4 separate regions of the Homo sapiens genome follow, and regions 2, 3 and 4 are each linked to region 1. The links are contacts of gene promoters, found by promoter capture Hi-C in blood cells and fetal thymus (Javierre and others, 2016). All regions are on one chromosome and are shown on one strand. The core of a region is centred on a gene start or on the middle of the fragment in contact, and the rest is flanking DNA. Distances in the headings are between cores, read along the strand shown. Region 1 holds the start of KANK2 (KN motif and ankyrin repeat domains 2). Region 2 overlaps SMARCA4 (SWI/SNF related BAF chromatin remodeling complex subunit ATPase 4). Region 3 holds the start of RGL3 (ral guanine nucleotide dissociation stimulator like 3). Region 4 overlaps SMARCA4 (SWI/SNF related BAF chromatin remodeling complex subunit ATPase 4).

Region 1 (2,700 bases), core at 91-2,590:
CCTGCCACCACGCCTAGCTAATTCTGTATTTTTAGTAGAGATGGTGTTTCTCCATGTTGGTCAGGCTGGTCTCGAACTCCTGACCTCAGGTGATCCGCCCGCCTTGGCCTCCCAAAGTGCTGGGATTACAGGCATGAGCCACTGCACCCAGCCTAACATCAACTCTTTTAATTGTCATGACAATTCTATGAGATGGGCACTTATCGCCCCGTTTCACAGACAGGGGATGCAGAGGGTACAGAAAGGTACAGTGGCTTCCTCGGGGTCACTGGGGCCATGGGGAAGTGGCTGGGCCTGAACATGAACCTAAGCCTGGTGGATCCCCCCACTGCCCACCAAGCCACCACCCTCAGACTCCACATCAGATATCTCTACCCGTTTCCCAGATACGGAGACTGAGGTCTGAGGGTACTCAGTCATCTCACCGCCCTCGATGAGGACCAGCACGTCCCGAGTAAGGGGAAGAGAAAGGAGACGAGGGGGTGTGGTGGGGGAGATGGATGTCTGTGGCTGAGACCCTTCTCTCGCCATGGGACCCCTGGGGAATGGGGAAGGGGTGACAGGATAAGACAGAGATGGAGAGACTGGAGCCTATAAGAGGGGACAGGTAGGGAGCGCAGGGAAGGGGCGCGGGTCTCCCCAACCCACCACCCAAGACCGGCCTGCACATCGCGGAGGTCGGTGGTGGTGGTGGGGGGGGGTCTTCCCGCCCCAAACTCGGGGTGGGGGGAGGCGAGAAGGACCCCGCCCCGTGCAGAGAGGGGGCGGGGCCTGTGGGATCCCGGGCTAATGGCAAACAGCTGCCGCTCCCCACGCCGGCCCAGCCGCCAAGCCCAGGCCCAGCCCGGCCGGACGCCCGGCCGCCTTCCCGCCGTCTGGGGCATGGCCGCGGAGGAGGGCGAGGGGGGACAGTGCGGGGAGAGGGCAGAGCCGGGGAGGAACAGAGGCAGAAAGTGGGACAGAGACAGGGGAGAGCGGGCAGAGGGGAGCCAAGACAGGAGAAACGGGCAGGGCACGAGGAATCGATGGGGGGTACTGGGAGGAATCGATGGGGGTATGGGGTCAAAGACGAGGAGGGGGCAGGGACGCGGGGACAGACACTCCAAGTCTGGAAAGTTTGGGCACAGAAGGTGGAGTTGGAGGCAGCGGCTCGTTGAGACCAGCGAGGTCGTGTCCCAGGGTTGGAGGCGGGGGGTAGGGTAGTAGGTGTGTGTGGAGGGGGTGCACACTCGATCCCCGAACCAGACTTGAACCCCTACCCAGCCCCGGGTCCCACTCGCCTTGCGCGCTCCGGCCGCTGCCTTCCCTGGGTCCCGCCGCCCGAGCGTCTTCGCGCGCGCCGCAGCCTGGGCGCCCGGCCCTCGGAGGTGGCTCCGCCCGCACCACGCCCCCTCCGGCTGGTCCCGCCCCCCCAGCCGGCACCGCCCCCTCCAGCCGCCCGGGCGCCCCGGCCGCGGTGGGGGGTGGGGATGGAGAGACGCTGGTTGGAGACTGGATCTCACCTGGACAGCAGGTGTGTGTGCGCGCCGGGGTGTCCGGCCTCGTCCTTCCTTCCTCCCTAAGTCCCCGAGGCAGGGTCCTCCCACTGCCGGCCTCCCCCCCACCGCCTGCTGTCCCTGGGCCGCTGCGGGGGGCGGAACGGCTCGGCGGCGGGAGGGGGTGGAGCTGGCCGGGGCCCAGCTCGGGGAGGGCGCGCGGGGCGGGCGCGGCAGCGGGAGGTCACCCCTCCCCCAGGCGGCCCAGGGCTGGAAGCGGCCCAGCGCAGTCCTGGCACACGGTGGCGTGACCGCCGCGCGAGAAGGGAGGCTGCAGAGTCCTGGGCGCCGGCGCCAGCCAGACCTGCATTCCCATCCCAGACCCACCAAACTTTTGCTGCTCTGTGCCTCAGTTTATTCATCTGTAAAATGGAGATGATCATGTTAGCTACCTGATAGGAGCGTTGAGAAGATTCACTGACCATTAGGAAGGGGCCTAACCATCAGGAAGGAGGCCCTTCGGGTTAAAAACTCTCATAAATGGAGTGGCCTACTTTTGCAGAGATCTTTCTGGGAGCCCTTTTAGTACACAGCCAGCCACTCAGCAAGGGCTTAATAAATATTATTAAGCCGGCGAGGTGGCTCACACCTGTAATCTCAGTGCTTAGGGAGGCCAAGGCAAGAGGACTGCTTGAACTCAGGAGTTCGAGACCAGCCTGGGCAACATAGCAAGACCCTGTCTATGCAAAAAAATTTTTAAGTGAAAAAAAATTAGGCCAGGCGCAGTGGCTCATGCCTGTAATCGTAGCACTTTGGGAGGCCAAGGTGGGCGGATTATTTGAGCCAAGGAGTTGGAGACCAGCTTTGGCAATATGGTAAGACGCCATCTCTACAAAAAACAAAATACAAAAAACCACCTGGGGCCGAGAAATGGCTCATGCCTGTAATCCCAGCACTTTGGGAGTCCGAGGTGGGTGGATCATCTGAGGTCAGGAGTTCAAGACCAGCCTGGCCAACATGGTGAAACCCCTTCTCTACTAAAAATACAAAAACTATCCTGGCATGGTGGTGCACATCTGTAATCCCAGCTACTCGGGAGGCTGAGGTATGAGAATAACTTGAATCTGGGAGGTGGAGGTTGCCGTGAGCCGAGATTGCACCACTGCACTGCAGCCTGGGTGACAGAGTGAAACTCTGTCTAAAAAAAAAAAAAAGAAAAAGAAAA
Region 2 (2,700 bases), core at 141-2,640, 140 kb before region 1:
GCGGGAACTGGGCATGGCTGGTGTGTGCCCACCTCGGGACCTGCTGCTGCACTCGGCAACAGGGACAGCAAGGAGGCAGGAGGCCAGGCCAGGTTTGGGGGCTCCCCTGTGTGTTTCTGCATCATCAACTTGAAGAAGCAGCCAACCTCGGCCCAGGATCATCCCTGGGGGAAGGACTGACAGGAGCGCATCTTTAGCCTCATGCTTAAGATCTGTGCATTGGGCCAGGTGCGGTGGCTCAGCCTGTGATCCCAGCACTTTTGGGAGGCCAAGGTGGGTGGATCAGGAGGTCAGGAGTTCGAGACCAGCCTGACCAACATGGTGAAACCCGTCTCTACTAACAATACAAAAATTAGCTAGGTGTGGTGGTGCACCTGTAATGCCAGCTACTTGGAGGCTGAGGCAGGAGAATCGCTTGAACCCTGGAGGCAGAGGTTGCAGTGAGCCGAGATCACGCCACTGCATGATGTGTGCATTGGTGTTAAGTCAGCTATTAAGAGGTGTGGGCTGGGTGTGTGTGGGGGTCAGAGGAGGTGATGTTTGCCCTGAGATGAGGTCAGAGCCCACATTCCCATGGGGGTGGACTCCCCTTTGTAGGCCTTGACACGAGCATGGGAGCGGAGCTAGGGGCACTGACATCAAAGGTGGTGGCGCCTATCCAGAGGACTCCGGGTTTCATTCCAAGTGCGGGGAGGCTGCAGCATGTCCCTCTTTAATATAGAGGTGAGGGAGGCTCTCAGCACCCTGCCTGTTGCAGGGAAGCCTGAGGACAGGACCTCCAGGGAACTCTGCACCAGAGCGGAATCCTCAGACCGGCAACTGGGTGGTCTTGATTCATCCAGAACGTAATTCTCCTAGAGGTCTGGGAAGGGGTGCTCTTGTACCTTGGTTTTGTGTTTTGTTTTTGTTTGTTTTTTGAGACAGAGTCTCACTCTGTCGCCCAGGCTAGAATGCAGTGGTGCGATCTCGGCTCACTGCAACCTCTGCCACCCAGGTTCAGGTGATTCTCCTGCCTCAGCCTCCCGAGTAGCTGGGATTGCAGGTGCCTGTCACCACGCCTGGCTCATTTTTGTATTTTTAGTAGAGACGGGGTATCACTATCTTGGCCAGGCTGGTCTTGAACTCCGGACTTCGTGATCCACCCACCTCAGCCTCCCAAAGTTCTGGGGTTACAGGCGTGAGCCACTGCGCCCAGCCGCACCTTGTTTTTTTTTTGCTGCCTGTAGCTGTTTCTCATTAGCCTGATGGAGGTGGCTGTTGGGGTGGTGGGGTGCTTATTATAAAGCCTTCTGCTGTCACAGCCCTGGGGTCTCACTTCCTGGGCTCTCTGCATAGGGAGCCGCCCTCCAGGGCAAGGGCCACAGTGTGCAGTAAGCCCCCCATGGCCACAGGGCAGGGCGTTTCAAGCCAAGAGTCTGCACTGTTTGCTGGCCACTAAGGGCATTGAATGGATCACAAAACTGGCTTTTTTTTCCCCCAGTCAAATAGAAATGGGGTTTTGCCATGTTGTCCAGGCTGGTCTCAAACTCCTGGGCTCAAGCAATCCTCCCACGTTGGCCTCCCAAAGTGCTGGGATTACAGGCACGAGCCACCATATCTTTAAAAATGTAATAGAATGGAAAATGGCAAAGCGCGCTGCTTTTCATAGAAGAGACTATCGCATTGGGGTTCTTCTGTTGCCCCTGCCTGTGCTGCACGTCCTGCTTCACAGTGTAAAGCGCAACTCTTGCTGTGCCTTATTGTAACAGGTATAGGGTGGATGCTGCCATCATGAAGAGAGAGGAGAGCTCTTTGCTTATAAAATTCCGTAGAGTGGAGAACAGGATGTGCCGGCTTAGGAGAGGGAAGAGGTACAGGCCCGCTCTGCCCGAGCTGCAGATGGGACACACATTTCCCGACTCAGAGGGGAGTCGTGTCTTTCTCCAGGGTCACCGAGCAGCAAGCGCATCCACTGTGTGTTCTTATTTTCTGAGCCTGTGGACTGGGTTTACCAACAGTTGCCTGTGGCAGAGCCGGCCACCAGCCCGCTCATAGGAAAAAGGAAGCCTGTGCCTCCAGGGAGGGCCCACGATGGGAATGCAGTCTGAGAAGGGTATGTGCTCCCATGCTGGACCGGCTGGTCCCACACCCAGGACCAAAAACACCTCCTGGCAGGAGATGGGGAGATGTACTTCATGAACACACGTTGGGGAAGGACACTCCTGGAAGGCAGAGGCTCAAGGCGGGCTGTGTCCAGGCCAGGAGATTCACTCCCACCTCAATTTCCTCCTCAGCACGGCTGGCCTGGCACTGGTGCCTGCTTCAGAGTTTAGTGTGTGTAAAGTGTGGCTGGCCCAGCAAGCAGGGGATGATGGCGGTTGTCAAGGCCAGGGGAGGTGCAGGGACAGGATTCTGGCTCCCGTGTGTAACGTCTGCATCTCAGGAGGCTCTCATGTTAGAAGCTGGGTCAGGGGCTTCGTGATGCACACAAACACCAAACAAGCAGGAGGCCTTCCGGGATCCTGCTCACGAGCAGCTTCCTGGAGGCAAGCCTGGCCCGTCTGCCCCTTGGTGACATCAGGACCCCAGCAACAGAACCAGGGAAGCCACCATGTTGTCGCTGCCATTTTCCAGCGTGGTAAACAGAAGCAAGACAAGGCGCACTCAGGACACCCAAACAGACGGCGGGGCCAGCCAGTGGCATGGGCGGGCTGCCCTGCC
Region 3 (2,700 bases), core at 175-2,674, 220 kb after region 1:
TCATAGCTCACTGCAGCCTCCAAGTCCTAGACTCAAGCGGTCCCTCTGCCCCAGCCTCCTGAGTAGCTGGGACCACTGCTGGGCATCATCACGCACAGCTAGTTTTTTAATTTTTATTTTTATTAGAGAGAATCTTGCTGTGTTGTCCAGGCTGGTCTCCAATTCCTGGCCTTCTGCCTTGGTCTCTCGAAGCGCAGGGATTATAGGTGTGTGCCCCACTCCCTGCCCGCTTGAAGTTATTGTTCCTCCCCATCCACAAATAGCTCCTGCAACTTGCCCTGGAAACCCTCCCTCTCCCATGCCCTGTCCCCTACTCCCTCTCCCGTCCCCTCCCCCTCCCGTCCCCTCCCCCCACCCCCCCGCCCCCGCCCCACACACTCTTTTCCACCCAGGGCTTCCCTCAGCCCTCCTGTCGCGCTTCACTGGCTGCCCCATCCGCCCTCACCTAGCCACTTCTAAACCAACCCCATTCCACCTTCCAGCCCCGGCCCTCTAAACCTGCCTTTCCCAACTCTGCCGTCCAGTTCTGTCCTTACCAAGTTGTCCCTAGGCTCCTCTCGGGAACTGCGCGGCCATCGCCTGGCCCCACCCCATTCCCTGGATCTCCCCCCACTTACCTGGCCGCCCCCAGTCCCCTTTCTACCTGGTCGCCTCATCTGGTCGCCTCCGAGCCCCTCCCTTCCTTCCGCCCACTGCACCTGGCGGCCTGTGCTCGGCTCTCCAGCTCCGCCCTCAACTGGTCGCTTCCGGCCCCGCGCCACCCACCAAACCCCCTCCTCACCTGGCTGCCCCCGGGGCCCTCCGCCGGGCTCCTGCGCTGACTGCGCTGCCGCCGCAGGGAGACACTGTACACCGCGCCGTCCTCGGTCTCTTCACCCCAGTCCTGCAGCGGTGCCTGGACGCACAGGCGGACTCAGGGCACCAAAGGGGCACAGGTCCTGGGGCCTCAGCCTCCTTGGCCGCTCGGACTCGGGCCGAGTCCTCCTGCTGCATCCCCACGCCCCTTCCCGGCCAGAAGCTGCGAGACTAGGGCTGGGGTCCCAGGCTAGTCCCCTCCTCGCTGCGGGTCCCCTCCTCCCAGGTCCTGAGGACATGGGGTGGCATTTGGGGATGTCCCAGGGCCCAGTCTAATAGAACCTGTCTCTAGCTCTTTCTGCCGACTGCGCTCAGAGACTCGCGCCCCCATCCCTAAGAGGAACCAGTCGCTTCACTGGGTCAAGGGCCGCGAGTCCCCAGGAGGGGACTCCAGGGCAAGTTCAGATTGGGAGCAGATACCGTCCGACGGGCGGGCGCTTGGAGTTTCTGGACCTGCGGGTCACCAGGGATGCGGGGTCCGGGGATCCCTTGTCCCCTTACCAGGGCCAGCTCTTTGCCTGCTGTGCGCTCCATGGCCGGCGCCCGTCCCTCTCAGTGGCGCCGCTGAGTGAGGCGGAAGGGCCGGCGGGTGGCGGGTGGCGGGCGGCGGGCAGTGGCCGGGCGCTGAGGCCAGAGGGGCGGAGCGGCCGAGCTGCTGGGGCGGGGCGGGGCAGGGCAGGCCGGACCCAGCCTCTGGGTGCCTCCAGCCGGACCCAGCGCCAGCCCAGGAGAGGTCCTGGCTCTTCCGCTGGGTGCCTATCAATCTGTCCCCAGAAGAAAGGACATATCTGTCCCCAAGGGGTCTTTTTTGTATCCCCAGATGTGGGGGAGCTCCTGTGTGGGGGCATGTGTGTGTCCCCAGACCAGAGTCCTCTGTCCTCCAGTGGAAGGGGCTAGCTTGATCAAGTGTGGGGGCATCTTCCACTTTTTATTATTATTGCTATTATTTTGAGATGGAGTCTCGTTCTGTCACCCATGCTGGAGTACAGTGGCTTGATCTTAACTCACTGCAACCTCCGCCTCCCAGATTCAAAGGATTCTTGTGCCTCAGCCTCCCAAGTAGCTAGGATTACAGGTGCCGCCACCATGCTCAGCTAATTTTTGTATTTTTTGTAGAGGCGGGGTTTTGCCATACTTGCCAGGCTGGTCTCAAACTCCTGGCCTCAAGAGATTCGCCCACCTCAGCCTCCCAAAATGCTGGGATTACAGGCATGAACCACGGCGCCCAGCCTTATTATTTTTTAGAGACAGGGTCTCACTCCTGTTGCCAAGGCTGCAGTGCAGTGGCTTGATCTTGGCTCACTGCAATCTCCGCCTCCTGGGTTCAATCCATTCTCCTGCCTCAGTCTCCCAAGTAGCTGGGACTACAGGCATATGCCACCATGCTCAGCTTTTTTTTTTTTTTTTTTTTTTTTTTTTTTTTTTTTGGTAAAAACTGGTTTTCACCATGTTGCCCAGGCTAGTCTGGAACCCCTGGGCTCAAGCGACACACCCAGCTCAGCCTCCCAAAGTGCTGGGAATATAGGTATGAATGAGCCACTGCACCCCGCCCTTATTTTATTTATTGAGACAGGGTCTGGCTCTGTGGCCCAGGCTGGAGTGCAGTAGCACGATCATAGCTCACTGCAGCCTGGAGCTCCTGGACTCAAGTGATCCTCCCAACTCAGCCTCCCAAAATACTGGGATTACAGGCATAAAACCACTACATCGGGCCATCTCCCATTTTTAAGCTCCATCTGCGTCACTAGCTGATGGGAGTCATCATGACCCAGGTTGGAGGAGGCAGTCTGTGGCCCTGGGTTTTCAGGGACAGCCGTCTCTTGGGTGGTGCAGGGTCAAAAACAG
Region 4 (2,700 bases), core at 110-2,609, 210 kb before region 1:
GGCAGCCCCTCCCCGACCACCTGCAGATGGCGGTGCAGGGCAAGCGGCCGATGCCCGGGATGCAGCAGCAGATGCCAACGCTACCTCCACCCTCGGTGTCCGCAACAGGACCCGGCCCTGGCCCTGGCCCTGGCCCCGGCCCGGGTCCCGGCCCGGCACCTCCAAATTACAGCAGGCCTCATGGTAAGACTGGCTGCCCTGGCCCTCAGGTGTCTCAGAGCGAATGGCTGGGGCGTGGGTGGCGGGGTGGACAGACCGTGCTCTGTTGCCGACTGGGTTCCCCGGTTTGGGATTGCACGGGCCCATACTGCACTTCTGGGTGCTCGGGTGGTGGGGGCAGCTAAATGCTGCTTCCCCAGCTCCCCGCTTCCCCTGGGGCCGCTGGTTAATAGGTGTATCTGCTGTGTCCCCTGGAGCCAGGGCTGCCCACGGGGCTGGGCGCAGGCATAAACCTGGGACGCACTGTTTTCTCTTTTGTTTCTCCCTACATGTAGGTATGGGAGGGCCCAACATGCCTCCCCCAGGACCCTCGGGCGTGCCCCCCGGGATGCCAGGCCAGCCTCCTGGAGGGCCTCCCAAGCCCTGGCCTGAAGGTGAGCTCCCTCTTCTATGGTGGTGCACCCGTGCCCTTACTCCCCATCTCAAGCTTGGGTCCTTGAGATGAGCTTTGTCAGGGAGAAAGGGCCGAGGGTGGTCAGGCTGAACTGCAGCCTGTACTTTTCTTGTGGTGGTCCCCGGGTCTCCCCTGTAGCCAGTCAGTTCCCAAAGGCTGTCGTTCATCCCTCCTCTGACAGCTTGTGGCCTTCACCCAGTCCCTGAGCCCTGTATATGTAATTGCTCAGTAAGTGCTGCAGGCTCCCATCTGTTGGGCTCAAAGAGGCAGTGGGACTCATTACCCATCCTCTTGGAGCCTGAGGTTTAGCGATGGGCATTGAGGGGCAAATTGCTTCCACTGGATTTAGTTGGCACTAGGAGGAGATGACAGGAAATGCTGCCATAGAGCCACAGACAGAACAAAAAGGCCTTGGGAGCCTGGGGCTGGCCCCAGTGGAGGGTGTGAAGGACGAGGGTGAGGCTGAGATCTGGAGGAGGTTGGAGCCCAAGGCAGGTGTGAAGGACACCCCTGGGTGAAAGGTGGGAGATGGGCGGGGTCTGCCTGTCCCCAGTGCCTCAAGCAGCTCAGCAGCTTTCCATTTCCAGCCCGGGATGGGCCCCAGAGCTCAACATGACGCCCTGGCCCCTTGCCTTCTCCCAGGACCCATGGCGAATGCTGCTGCCCCCACGAGCACCCCTCAGAAGCTGATTCCCCCGCAGCCAACGGGCCGCCCTTCCCCCGCGCCCCCTGCCGTCCCACCCGCCGCCTCGCCCGTGATGCCACCGCAGACCCAGTCCCCCGGGCAGCCGGCCCAGCCCGCGCCCATGGTGCCACTGCACCAGAAGCAGAGCCGCATCACCCCCATCCAGAAGCCGCGGGGCCTCGACCCTGTGGAGATCCTGCAGGAGCGCGAGTACAGGTGAGGGCGGGGCCCAGTTGCCAAGGTCACTGCCCTGTGTCCCCCATGTCCCCCTGGGGAAGCCACTCAACTTTCTCCCCCACTCTAGCAAACAGTGCCCTGTGCCCACCACTGCCACTTGGCCTACACCTCCTTCCTCACCTCCCTGCTCCCACCCTGGCTGCGGTCTGTTTCCCACACAGCAGTTTGAGTTCTCTCTCTTTTTTTTTTTTTGAGACGGAGTTTCACTCTTGTTGCCCACGCTGGAGTGCAATGGCACAATCTCGGTTCACTGCAACCTGCATCTCCTGGCTTCAAGCGATTCTTCTGCCTCAGCCTCCTGAGTAGCTGGGATTATAGGCATGCGCCACCACACCTGGCTAATTTTGTATTTATTTTAGTAGAGGCAGGGTTTCTCCATGTTGGTCAGGCTGGTCTCGAGCTCCTGACCTCAGATGCTCCCAAAGTGCTGGGATTACAGGCATGAGCCACCGCACCTGGCATGAATTCTCTTTTTATGATTGATATCAGATCTACTCCGTGGATTAAAACCTGCCTGTAGCTTCAATTATCTGCCCAATAAGCTTTGCCTTATGTCCACTCCTGCCCAGCATCCTTCCTCACCCATCCCAGTCTCTCTGTTCCTCTTTTCATTTATTTAACAAGTTAGACTTGTTCCTGCCCCAGGACCTTTGCACAGGCTGTGCATGGCTCCTTCTACTCATTCAGGCCTGATTGCTGGGGTTCCCTCCTCATGGAGGCCCTTCCTGTCACTTCCAGCCACTCTCTGGAATTGCAGTGGATATTTTATTTTTTTTAAATCTCCTTTATGGCCTGTGTTTTCTAATGAGACTGAGAGTTCCTTGCTTTGTTGTTCTTGTTTAGTGCTAAGGCCCTGCACTTAAAATGGTCCCTGGCATACAGTTGGTGCTCAATGAGTATGTGCAGAAAGACTGATTAAGAGAATTAGCCCACATAACCTTCGCATGTAACCTTCGTAACCTTCAGACCAAGCCTCTAGGGTCACTCCGAGGGGTTGCCTCAGTTTTGAGGTGAGAATGCTGAGGTGTGCAGTTGAAATAGATTCCCACCGCCCTGCGCCTCATCCATGCCAGAGCTGCATGAAAACCTTGGCCCGCCTGACGCCAGAACCTGGCTCACACCACTGAAAAGGCATGACCTGGGCGCGTCTATCAGGAATCTTGTT

The links. The method cuts DNA at HindIII sites, captures the fragments that hold promoters and counts their contacts. A CHiCAGO score of 5 or more calls a contact.
Region 2: a fragment that was not itself captured here is called in contact with the fragment with the promoter of KANK2 in region 1 in 1 of 17 cell types (endothelial precursors); the score reaches 5.5 in endothelial precursors.
Region 3: the fragment with the promoter of RGL3 here is called in contact with the fragment with the promoter of KANK2 in region 1 in 2 of 17 cell types (M0 macrophages and neutrophils); the score reaches 7.6 in M0 macrophages.
Region 4: a fragment that was not itself captured here is called in contact with the fragment with the promoter of KANK2 in region 1 in 1 of 17 cell types (endothelial precursors); the score reaches 6.8 in endothelial precursors.

The regions. Positions count from the first base shown.
Region 1 is chr19:11,196,205-11,198,904 of GRCh38, forward strand. It overlaps KANK2 (KN motif and ankyrin repeat domains 2), which reads right to left and starts at 1,341. Exons shown (of 13, transcript NM_001136191.3): 1 at 1,281-1,341. RefSeq lists a silencer at 1,205-1,824. The HindIII fragment of the contact is 22,502 bases long and covers 1-2,700 here.
Region 2 is chr19:11,054,291-11,056,990 of GRCh38, forward strand. All of the region lies in intron 30 of SMARCA4 (SWI/SNF related BAF chromatin remodeling complex subunit ATPase 4), which reads left to right. Among named protein-coding and RNA genes, the nearest start is that of LDLR, 34 kb to the right of the region's middle. RefSeq lists an enhancer at 2,323-2,700. The HindIII fragment of the contact is 8,776 bases long and covers 1-2,700 here.
Region 3 is chr19:11,417,890-11,420,589 of GRCh38, forward strand. It overlaps RGL3 (ral guanine nucleotide dissociation stimulator like 3), which reads right to left and starts at 1,425. Exons shown (of 19, transcript NM_001035223.4): 1 at 1,357-1,425; 2 at 782-895. The coding sequence starts at 1,389. The HindIII fragment of the contact is 8,157 bases long and covers 1-2,700 here.
Region 4 is chr19:10,986,411-10,989,110 of GRCh38, forward strand. It overlaps SMARCA4 (SWI/SNF related BAF chromatin remodeling complex subunit ATPase 4), which reads left to right. Exons shown (of 35, transcript NM_003072.5): 4 at 1-183; 5 at 495-593; 6 at 1,256-1,514. Among named protein-coding and RNA genes, the nearest start is that of SMARCA4, 27 kb to the left of the region's middle. The HindIII fragment of the contact is 1,431 bases long and covers 645-2,075 here.